Linked DNA regions of Homo sapiens: region 1 is linked to region 2. The links are contacts of gene promoters, found by promoter capture Hi-C in blood cells and fetal thymus (Javierre and others, 2016). All regions are on one chromosome and are shown on one strand. Each heading gives the region's core, a stretch centred on a gene start or on the middle of the fragment in contact. The rest is flanking DNA. Distances are from core to core; before and after follow the strand shown. Region 1 overlaps SYNE3 (spectrin repeat containing nuclear envelope family member 3). Region 2 holds the start of PAPOLA (poly(A) polymerase alpha).

Region 1 (6,282 bases), core at 1,027-3,526, 1.0 Mb after region 2:
TTGGATTCTGGGCTCAAGAGGTCTTTCTGACTAAGGCTCTCTAATTGTGGGGATTACAGGCACGTGGCACTGCATCCGGCTTCATTCTTCATCTTTTTTTGACAGTTTTTGAATGATTTGCACAGGAGGGGTTGACAAACTGTGGCCTGCTGGTCAAATGCCACCTGTTTTTGTAAATAAAGTTTTGTTGGAACGCAGTCATGCTCATTTATTTACATGCTATCTGTGGCTATTTTCATGCTACCATGACAGATTTGAGGAGATGTGACGGAGACCATATGGCTTGTAAAGCCTAAAAGCCTTGCTCTCTGACCGTCTCCAGAAACAGTCTGCCAACCCTCGCTCTAGAGTGCAGCGCTTTGCAGTCTGCTCTTTTTCTCTGCAGACCGTGCATTATTCTAGGGTGTTAATTTCTCGTTGTAAATGGCCAGATTATGCTGTAGAGTGGGTGGATGTCACAAACTTTCCTTGCTGGACTGTTATATTGCATCTTTTTTTTTCTCCCCTCGGGAAAACTGTCACATTTGCAAATTTATTATTTATTTGTTATATAGCACCTACTGTGTGCCAGCATTGTTCTAAGCACTTTACCAATATGAACTCACCTAGTCTTCAGATCTGCAGTGAGAAGTTTATGCTAATACCATCCCCATATTACAGATGAGAAGGCAAAGTCAGAGGAGTTAAATATACTGGGCTAAGACCACATAGCTTATTTGGCAGCAAAGTCAGGTTTGAATCCTTAGCAGCTGTTAGGAAGTGTCCCAGGAAAAGCAGGCCTTTGTGAATCCCTGTGTGGGGGGACAGGGGCTGGGGCAGTGACTCACCAGGAGTGAGCCCTGCCAGGCCCCCTCAGCCCAGCCCTGGAGCCTCACACCATCCAGATTTGAATTGGCCCTAATCTTCCAGCTCGGGCCAAGTGACCACAAATTTTATTTCTTTGTTTAAAATGGCCCTGAAAAGAGGGCCAGCAGCTGATGCTAAAGAGCAAGTGCAGAGCCCTAAGAAAACAATGGCTCCGGATCAGAAAAATACCATTTGGGTGTAAGAGTACGAGAGTGGATAGTTGAGCCCGGCAGGAGTGCTGCTTCATGGCTGGAAGACTCCACAGCTTGCTCACTTGCTACATAAATGATAACTTTGCAAATATTTGAGTTGCCTGGAGAAAACATAAATGCAATATAACTGTCCAAGAAAAAGGAAGTGGTTCAAGAAAGTTTGTGACCTTCACTCCATAGAATATTCTGAGCTGTTTACAATGAGAATGTAATGATGGACACTGTGGATTGCTTGTGGCAAACATATTCTTATCTTCTGTGAGATAGGGGGTCTTAGGGGAGGAGGAGGGAATTCCAGACGTTCTCACCAGGAGAACAAGCTTCCTAAGATTTCATGGAGCCCTCGTGGCCCATCCAGGTCCCACCCCCGATCCCAGGAATGATGTCAGAGGAGGCTGGTTAAAATCCCCAGCTCACAGACACATTTTGGAATGTGAATTTAGCTAGGGCTTCCCACAGGACATTCATAAATGGGTGGATTCCAGAAGGTCCCATGTTAAGAAATGCCATGTTAGAGAGACTGGAGTGGAGGGATCAGGGGAGGGAGTCCACAGTGTTGAGAATCCTCCAAATGCAACACTCACTTTGCAGAAGAAGAAAGAGACATTGAGCTTTGTCAGGGCAGGATGCTCTTATCTGTTTGGTTCATCTCTGTGATCTTCAACACTGACCACAGTGTCTGGCATAGGCTTTGAAGGATTTGTCATTAAGTGAATTAAGCATCTCCCAAGCTTTGGAAAGGAGAGAAATTGGGTCTGGTATAGTTCTTGATCAGAAGACAAGACGACCACAACCTGACTCTCTGCCCATCCACTTAGGGTCCTTTTAGGGCATGGCCTTCATCTTCTCCCGGCCCCTCTGAGTGGAATGAGAGGTGGGAGAGACCTGGGTTTTGGAGCCGCTGCCCTGTCAAGGTGCTCTGCCTGATTCATTTCAAGCCATACTCTTGAGAGGCCCACTGGGGAAGGCTTCGCAGGCCCAGCTGCCATAACCCCAAGCCTCACTGGCCCCTCGGGCTTGTCCCAGGCTTAGGACTGTTCACGGGGGACAGTCCAGCATGAGCCACTGGGGCTCACCCTCCACCCCGTCTGTCTCTCAGTCAGTTGGGTGTGAGATGGGAAATCCTGTTCTGAGTCAAAAAGGAACCCTCCTCCCTTGCCTTCCTGATTCACTTCCTCATTCTGCCGACATTTTACAGCCTGGCACAGGTGCTGGAGCCATGCAGGCCTGGCCTTGCTTCTGACTTGGTGCCTCAGTCACTGTCTGACGTGGGCAGGAGAGCCAGCTTCAGTTTCCCCATCTGTCAGGCAGCACGATGACCCCTGATTTGAAGGTTGATGGGGGCCTTCATGGTGTCTGCCCAGTGCCTGGCACACAGCAGGCCTCACCCATGGGAACTATTGCCATTGTGAGTAGCATTTGATAACATTTTACCCAACCAACAGGAGTCTCCTTTGGCACCCTAAGATCAAGACCCAGTGATAACCTTGACACCTACCAGGACAATCATAGGGTCGCAGATGAACCCAGAGCAGGAGACAGGGTAGCAGCAGGCAGGAGACTCCTTAACTGTCAAACAGCATTGTCCAAGGTGGGCCCGGCTGGGCATTTTGCTGGGAAAAGGACTGTAAGGACAGACTGGGCACAGACACTCTTGGAAGGAATGGAGGCTGCTCTCACAGTTCATTAGACATTGGCAAGCTTAATCAGTTCTTGAGAAAAGACCCTTCTATCTGAACCCATGGCCTTTTTTTTCTTTCTTTTCTTTTCTTTCTTTTTTTTTTTGAGACTGAGTCTCGCTCTGTTGCCCAGGCTGGAGTGCAATGGCATGATCTCGGCTCACTGCAACCTCCGCCTCCCAGGTTCAAGCGATTCTCCTGCCTCAGCTTCCTGAATAGCTGGGATTACAGGTGCCTGCCACCACGCCCAACTGATTTTTGTATTTTTAGTAGAGACGGGGTTTCACCATGCTGGCCAGGCTGGCTCGAACGCCTGACCTCAGGCGATCCACACACCTCAGCCTCCCAAAGTGCTGGGATTACAGGCATGAGCCACGGCGCCCAGCACCCATGGCCTTTTTTTTGAAGAGCAGGTTTACAATAAATAGGATGCCTTAGGGTTAAACGGCACCTTACAAGGCATTTCCTAGCATGTGACTTAAGGTGCCCTGTTGCAAGGGCCCTGCTTGGTCCAGTGTGGTTTTCACACCATTGAGCAGATGCTGCCCTGACTGCTTGTGGGTCCTGTCACTGAGTAGGCTGTGCCACTCTCTTGCTCACAAACCCTCACTGGCTCCCTATTGCCCACAGAGTAAAACCCACACAACCCTTTGGAATCCTGTGCTGTTCAGTCCCCTCAGCCTGCTCTCCAGTATGGCCTCCTCCCGTCTCTCTTTGTTAACAATTGCCAAACCCATCCTGCAGCCTGAACTTGGCCTTGCACTTCCCCATCTCCCAGCTTTTGGTCTCGCCAGTCCATCCACTCGTTATGCCCTTTCCCACTTCTCATCTTATTCAGACCCTGCTCATCCTTCACATCCCAGCCAGGGTATCCCTTCCTCTATGAGCCTCTCCTGGAATCTTCATAAGAATCATTGCTCCTTTCTCTAGGCTCTGTGCCTCTGCATTTAACACCCATAGCACTCTCATTTAGAGCTTGTGATCTGGAGAACCCGAGCTTGAAACCTATAGGCCCTAGTGGCACCGCGCCAGGCACATCTGGATGTGGAAGTCAAATGGTCTTTTTTTTTTCTTTTTTTTAAGAGTCAGGGGTCTCACTTTGTTGCCCAGGCTGGCTTCAAACTCCTTCTACCTCAGCCTCCTGAGTAGCTGGGATTGCAGGCAGGCACCACCACACCTGGCTAAATGGTGTTAGATTTGAATTCTCGCCTCCCAGCTACTATCTCTGGAATCTTGGGCAGGCCATGAAACTGCTCAGCTTCAGTATTCTCATCTATAAAACAGGAATGAATATTAAGACCTACCTTTCAAGTATAAAATTAAAAAAAAATTATCTCAACAAATGCTATTGAATTGGATTGAGTAGCTTTCACAGGGGGAGTTTATTCCTCACCGGAATTCCAAACACCAAATGATGGGCTGTTGGGTTGAGAACCCTGGCGCTCAAGGCTATTTGTATGCCCCTGAGGGCATCACTCAGCTTTATTTTCCTCTAAGGCTGTCCGTGGCGGCTGGCTTCCCACAGCGATGCAGCCACTGGTGGCCACCCCTCTTCTCCCAGGCAGGCATTTTGCCCATCCCATGGGGCTGCATTCAGCATCTCTTTTGGGAGGCAGAGTTTTTTTCTGTTTGTTCTGTTGTTTGATTCAAAAATTTCATGTCATTTATATAAGGTCTATAAGACCCATAGGGATGCTGAAATGGTGTCAGGCTCTCAGAAGCAGTCTGGCTCAGCAGCTGGGACAGCTGCAGCTCCGGAGTTCAATACACCTAGGTTCAAATTCCAGCTCTGCCTCCTGGGCAAAACCAGTTCTGAAATTTTATACTCAAGTTATCTCACCTCTCTGAGCCTCAGTTTCCTTATCTCTGATACGGGGATGATTATACCAACCATTAAAGTTGTCTTAAAAAGCAAGTGCATTAATAAATGCTTGGAGAGGGAGGGGCATATTGACTAGCACCTAATACCTGCTCAGTAAATGGAACGTACTGTTCTCCATTTGGAAAAAAAGGTCTCAAGCAGCTTCTTAGCTTCCTTTACATTGGCACCCCATTTATAAGGTACAGGTTTTAGCTTCCTGGAAGGAAAAACTTCCTTTGAGCCTGAGCTATGTAACAACAGAATAGGCTGCCTGAAGAAGGCAGTGAGCCACCCATCACTGAAGGTGTTCAAGAATCTTGGCAGCCTTTGGTGGGTGTATTTTTAAGGAAATTCAAGCAGAGATGGTTGATTAGATTAGGTCAGTTTTAATGGCCCTCCTAGTTTTGGGATGCTGATGTTTTAAAAAACAGCTTTATTGAGATATAATTCATATAATATACAATTCACCCATTTAAAGTGTACAATTCAGTGCTTTAAAAAAAAATAGAGCCAGGTTCTTACTGTGTTGGCCAGGGTGGTCTCAAACTCCTGGCCTCAAGCAGTCCTCCCACCTCGGCCTCCCAAAGTGTAGGGATTACAGGCATGAGCCACCTCGCCTACCCTCAATGCCTCTTAGTATATTCACAGAGCTGTACAGCCGTCACCACAATCATTTTTAGAATATTCTTACTACCTCCAACAGAACCCCTGCACTCCTTCACAGTCAACTCCCAACCCTCCCACCTCCCTAGCCCTAGGAAACCACTAATCTACTTTCTGCCTCTGTAAATTTGCCTGTTCTACACATTTCACATCAATGAAATCATACAATACATGGGACCTTTGTGACTGGCTTCTTTCATTTAGCACAACGTTTCCAAGGTTTCTCTATATTGTGGCATATGTCAGCACTTCATTCTTTTTCACAGGTGAATAATATTCCATTGTATGGATAGACCACGATTTCCTTATCCATTTATCAGTTGATGGACATTTGGGTTGCTCCCACTTTTTTTGGCTATCATGAACATTTGTGCACAAGTTTTTGTGTGGACATATGTTTTCATTTCTCTTGAGTATATATGTAAGAGTAGAATTGCTGGATCTGATGGAAGCTCTATGTTTAATATTTGAAGAACTACCAGGCTGTTTTCCAAAGTCACTGCACCATTTTCTGTTTCTACCAGCAGCATATAAGGGTTCCAACTTCCCTACATCTTCACCAACACTGGTTATTATCTTCCTTTGATTATAGCTATTCTAATGGGTGTGAATTAGTATCCCATTTTGGTTTTAATTTGCATTTCCCTGATGGCTAGTGATGTTGAGAATCTTTTCTGTGCTTTCTGGGCTTCTCAGTGTGCTCATTGGCCATCTTAGATGTAGGTATGATTTAAAGAAATGTCTATTCAAATCATTTGCCTATTTTATAATTGGGTTGTCTGTTTATTATTGAGTTTTAAGAGTTCTTTGGATTTTCTAGATGTAAGTCCCTTATCGGATATGTGATTTGCAAAAATTTTGTTCCATTCTGTGGGACATCTTTTCACTTTCTTGATGGTGTCACTTTTTTTTTTTTTTTTAACATTTTTGCCTTTGAAGTACAAAAGTTTTAATTTTGATGATGCCTAATTTATCTATTTTTTTATTTTGTTGCTGTGCCTTTGCTATCACATCTAAGAAA
Region 2 (5,667 bases), core at 476-2,975:
GAGAAACACCACAACAATCTTGCTTAGACTCAGTTCTCCTAGGGTCTCTTATTCTATGAAAGGGAAAAATCAATAAACAGAAACCATGCAGATTCCAAGATTTTAGACCTGTATAGTTAGTTAAGTCTAACAAACGTTTTCATCACAGAAGTAATGTGATAGACTTCTTAATAACCTAAGGGGGTGGGTGGGAGCCATGGAAAATCCTTTTAAAATACATAAATTGCGATAGAAGTCATTAAGGTCTGTGCCAAAGTTAGAGTCTCACCTGTAAAGAAACACATTCACACACATATATAATTGTAAAACTACAATCGGTGATTATGTGCTAAAGAAATTATCCTTACTTACAAAAAAAAAATAGACCTGAGTTACTACATTCGATGTCTAGAAACCACAAAAATCTTTATCCTGAATTTAACCAAAACTTTGAGTGTCAATTACATGTTGCGTTTTGAGGCTACTAAGATGAAGAAAACTCGGTCCCTGGTCTCAAAGAGGCACTCTTACGCTTCAATATTCAAAAATGGAAGAAATGCAGTCTCACTATTTAGGCCTCTACAATGCTGTATATTTGCAGGAAAAAAAAAATCCGTAATCTACTGGCAATGAGCTGCCAAATTATATCTCATTATCAGAAAGGGGGAGGGGAGAAAAAAACTTTTTAAAAACCCACCAAGAAAAGAAAAAGGCGCAGTGGCATTAGAAAGCATAAAGAGACTAGCTTCAAGCCTTACAACCAGGAAAAAAAAAGTATCACCAGAGATAGAGAAAGAAGGAAACAGAATGAAACCTGGTTACCCCATCAAAACAAAACAGGGAAAGCAATACATAAGTCGTTTTGGAGGAGGGCACCCTGTGAAGTGCCCCCTTCTCCGACCGCCTGTGAATGCTAGGGAGGCGGAGGTGGAGGCAGGCGGACTCAACGCTCAAAGCTGGGCTTTTAACTCGTGCTCCTACATTCAGACAAGGTCAGTGGAAAGGGGCTAACTCCGGCGCACAAGACAGGCATCTGGAAATGGGAGGAAGAGAGTGAGCAAACTGAGACAGACCAGGAACAGAAAAGCAACATCGAATGGGCCCGAGGGGCGCCGAGAGCGAGCCCGAACCCCAAGTGCTGATCCCGCGTGCAGCAGGGTCGTGGTTCCCCACCACCAGGCAATGTTTTGTTTTCGGGTTGTTTTGATTTTCTTTGTGGACGGGGCGGAGAAGCTGGAGTGGCCGGGCGAGTTAGAGGTTCCGCCAGCAATTCCGGAAGGGGAAGGCCCCCGGCCCGACGGCAGCTGACCCAGCCAGGAAGGGTCGGGGGACGCGGGAACCCAGCACACGGGGGGAAGTGCGGCGGCGAGCGAGCGAGGAAACAGGAAGGTCCCCAGTCCTGCCTGCCTCCTACCAGCGGGGAGGGTCGGGCTCGCGTGCCACCCTCTCCGCCTACCTCTTCCCCTTCCCGGACGCCCCCCAAGGCCCAGCCGGCGAGCGAAAGAAAACAGAATACAAATTACTTACAACGGCATCGTCTCCGGCGCCGGCACCGCCCAGTCACTTCCCCCCCGCAACCGCCGCCGCTGCCGCCCTGGGCATGATCCACTGAGGCGGGAGGGAGGGGGGGGCCTGCCTCAGCCCTGGGTCCAACCCCTCTCCCGCACCGCTCCCGCCGCTTTAAGCGCTTCTCCTCCTTCCCCTTCGTCCTAACATGGCGCCCGAGCGCTACCACAGCAACGTTCTAGAACTGCTGACGCCACCACGCACGCCGTGCGTGCGCCTGCGCACCAGCGCCGTCCGCCGCGAAGCCTCACGGGAAGCGGAGTTCCTAAGGCCGCCTGCGGCCCGGCAATTACCCCCTGGGTCCTCTCACACTTAGCAGTGGGTGTCAGATGGTGGAAGGGAACGCTCAGGGAGGCCCCGGGCGGTGAGTTGTCCCTCGGGCGGGGACGCCCTCGTGGGCAGTGCGGCGTGGACGGCGCAAGGAAGAACCCGGAGAGATCCCAAGCCACGAGGCACCGCTTCCGGCGCATTGTGAGGTCCCACCTTTCCCGCCGCCTGAGGTCGCGGCGGCTGCTCTTTCCCGGAGCAGCGTCCCTGGAGGCGCTGCCAGGGGGTGAGGCACCCACGCGTGCACCGTATGTACCCCCCAGCGCGGCGCTTAGAACGACTCGCATGAGTCGCTGCCTTGGGTTGGAACCGGTTACTCCGCCGCTTCGTACTGGACTGCAAAGTAACAAGTACTTCGCCGGGCAGCGGTGCCGACCCCGTGTGCTACGGCGAGAGGTGCTTAGCCTAGAGCCGACGAAAACATGTCCCCAGGACTCCCTTTCCCTCCCAGACTGCGTCCCACCAGATGGAGCTTTCCGTCTGTTTTAACCACCAGTGTATTCCTGATGCCTGACCCAGGCGCTGAAATATTTGTTGAACGAATAAATGTGTAGGTTAGGACTGACGACAGTCCGCGAATTCTGGAACACGGGCTGATTTTACTTTTGAACAAATGATGCACTGGAACTTCCTGACAGAGCTGACCTTTTATAGGAACATCAATGGCAGTCACCGCTGGCATTTTAGCAAAGGTTGTCTTGGTCATAATTTCCCCTTGACTGTGTTTCCAGCCCTTAATCTATATCGGGTGGGACCTGGAAGTCTACCTTCTCGCCACCCCTCGGCAAAAGTTTGAGAAAGTGTTTGAGGCAGAGCCTCCTCTCTCATATGCCCTCCATCTGCGAATTAGAACGAATTATAAGTTCTACGGTGTCACATAGGGGGTTAGCGGAGAGGAAGAGGGAAAGAATCAAATACAGGACGCTGCCTTAACCAAAGTTCTAAACTCTAAATGTAATAATGTGCATTTGTGAGTCCTCAGGAAGTTTCACAAAGGCTTTCCCTTTTTTCACAGAATGTCTAGTAGGACTGGTGACTCCGAATGGGAAAAACACAGGACCTAGACCTGCCCTGTCCATTAGTGTAGCCCCTTGGCCACTTAGGGCCACTGAGCACTTGAAATGAGGCTAGTTCGTTTAGGAGGCACTGGAAGTGCAAAATACGCACGGGTGTCAGTTCGACGAATGTGAAATACCTCACTGATCACTTTTTATATTGATTGCACGTTGAAATATTTTGGATATATTGCAGTAAAGAAAATGTAAGCCGGGCACGGTGTCTCACACCTGTGATCCAGCACTTTAGGAGGCTGAGGTGGGAGGATCGCTTGGGCAGGAGTTAGAGACCAGCCTGGGCAATATAGGGAAACCCCCGTCTATACAAAAAGTTAAAAAAAAAAAAAAAAAAAGAAAAAAGAAAAAAAAATTAGCTGGGCATGGTAGTTCCTGCCTGTGGTCCCAGTTACTCCGGAGACTGAGGTAGGAGGATCCCTGGAGTGGGAGGTGGAGGCTGCCGTGAGTCGTCATCTCACTACTGCACTCCAGCCTGCGTTGACAGAACGAGATCCTGTCTCAAAAAAAAAAAAAAGAAAATATACTATTAAAATTAATTTTACCTGTTTTTTTAAATGTGACCACTAGAAAATTTTAAGTTATATATGTGGCCTTCATTTCCATTAAATAGTGCTGATCTGCAAACAGACTTATATTTGATTGTCATTTCTTCCATTTAGTCTCTTTTCCTCTTGTCATCAAGGTGGCTTTGGCTGGAGACCCAGTAGCATAGTTGTCCCTAAAAGACTGAAAATCTGAGATCCAGATAATTCAATAATGTATTAAGGCTATGGACTTCAAAGCAGCTTGTAAAGATATGCCCTGGGGCCTGGCACAGTGGCTCACTCACACCTGTAATCCCAGCACTTTGGGAGGCAGAGGATTCCTTGAGCTCGGGAGTTCTAGGCCACCCTGGGCAACGTGGCAAGTCGTTGTCTCTACTAAAAAAAAAAATCAAAAAAATTAGCTGGCCTTGGTGGCACACACCTGTAGTCCCAGCTACTTGGGAGGCTGAGGTTGGGAGGATCACCTGAGGCAAGGAAGTTGAGACTGCAGTGAGCCCTGATCATGCCATTGCACTCTAGCTTGGCAACAGAGCAAGACATTGTTCAAAAAAAAAAAAAAAAAATGCACTAACGATGTACTTTATGAATAAAAGAATGGGGACTTTTTCAGCTTATGTTGTCCTCTGCCAGGCATCTCAGAAGGCAGTGAAGAGAGGGACGCTAAACATCCATGCTTTTGGTCTATAATTGCTTCAAACTATTTTTGTTTCAGCCTTCCATAGAATGAGGCAGCTAGATAGCACAGCTGATGAATATTTAGTACCTAGAATGTGCTAGATATCACGCTACTTGCCTAAGGCATTTAAAAGGAACAATATTGAGGATTGAGGATGGAGTCAAGGTAGACTTCATGTAAGAGGTCACTTCAGACACGTCCTGATATGTTAGGGTTTGGTAAGTGGACAGAAGGAGTAGAAGGGCATCTCAGGTAAAGAGAACAATTTTTAAAAATAAAATGAGGCCGGGCGCAGTGGCTCACGCCTGTAATCCCAACACTTTGGGAGGCTGAGGTTGGAAGATCACTTGAGGTCAGGAGTTGGAGATCAGCCTGGCAAACATGTTGAAACCCCATCTCTACTAAAAATACAAAAATTAGTCGGGCATAGTGGTGGGCGCCTGTAATCCCAGCTACTCAAAAGCTGAGGCAGGAGAATCGCTTGAACCCAGGAGGCACATGTTGCAGTGGACCAAGATTGTGCCATTGCACTCCAGCCCGGGCAACAAGACCAAAACTCTGCCTCAGAAATAAATAAATAAATAAATAAAAATTAAAACGTGCAAATAATTTATTTGGAGAAAGGGAAACTTTTGAAGTGACTAAACCACAAAATATTTAGTGAGGAGTGGTGAAAATAAAGCTGCAAAGTTAAGTGAGAGGCAGAAGATAAGGGGCATAGTGGTGCACACCTGTGTCCTCTATTCTGAAGGCTGCGGTGGGAGAATCACCTGAGCCCAGGAAGTCAAGGCTGTAGTGAGCCAAGATCATGCCACTGCGCTCCAGCCTGGGTGACAGAATGAGACCATGTCTCAAAAATAAAGGAAGTAGGGGGAGATGGGAGATCATATAATGACTCCATAAACAGACAAAGGAATTATAGATGGTGATAAGCGGCATTAATAAACCAGGCATTAGAGTTGTGGTGGAGGCCAACTTCAGATAGAGAAGGCTTTTCAGAGGAACTGACCTTTGAGCTGAGACCTGAAGTTAATTCTGAGCGATTTTGAATTTTTGTTTTTGTGAATGGAGGAGCCATTGAAAGTTTTAAAACAGGAGTTAGGTTACATTTATATTTTTGGAAAGATGACTGAAAGTGTAAGGAATGAATTTGAACTAGGAGAGGTTTTGAAGCTGGAAGATGGGTGAGGCGGCTCTTGCAATCCTTCAGATGAGAAATGAAGTTTGAAATAAGGAAGAGAAAGCCGGGCGCGGTGGCTCAAGCCTGTAATCCCAGCACTTTGGGAGGCCGAGGCGGGTGGATCACGAGGTCAGGAGACTGAGACCATCCTGGCTAATCCGGTGAAACCTCGTCTCTACTAAAAATACAAAAAAATTAGTCGGGCGTGGTGGCGGGCGCCTATAATCCCAGCTACTCATGAGGCTGAGGTAGGAGAATGGCGTGAACCCGGGAGGCGGAGCTTGCAGTGAGCTGAGATCGCGCCACTGCACTCCAGCCTGG

The links. Contacts are between HindIII fragments. The CHiCAGO score rates a contact against its expected background, and 5 or more counts as called.
Region 1: a fragment that was not itself captured here is called in contact with the fragment with the promoter of PAPOLA in region 2 in 1 of 17 cell types (erythroblasts); the score reaches 6.1 in erythroblasts.

The regions. Positions count from the first base shown.
Region 1 is chr14:95,491,673-95,497,954 of GRCh38, reverse strand. The region is part of intron 1 of SYNE3 (spectrin repeat containing nuclear envelope family member 3); the gene reads left to right. Among named protein-coding and RNA genes, the nearest start is that of SYNE3-AS1, 21 kb to the left of the region's middle. RefSeq lists enhancers at 2,230-2,329, 2,218-2,719. The HindIII fragment of the contact is 970 bases long and covers 1,792-2,761 here.
Region 2 is chr14:96,498,440-96,504,106 of GRCh38, reverse strand. PAPOLA (poly(A) polymerase alpha) reads right to left here and starts at 1,725. Exons shown (of 22, transcript NM_032632.5): 1 at 1,507-1,725. The coding sequence starts at 1,514. PAPOLA-DT (PAPOLA divergent transcript) reads left to right here and starts at 1,781. Exons shown (of 1, transcript NR_122121.1): 1 at 1,781-2,459. RefSeq lists enhancers at 1-77, 1,233-1,828, 1,652-1,911, 1,829-2,423, 2,424-3,020 and silencers at 1,412-1,531, 1,970-2,313. The HindIII fragment of the contact is 10,690 bases long and covers 1-5,667 here.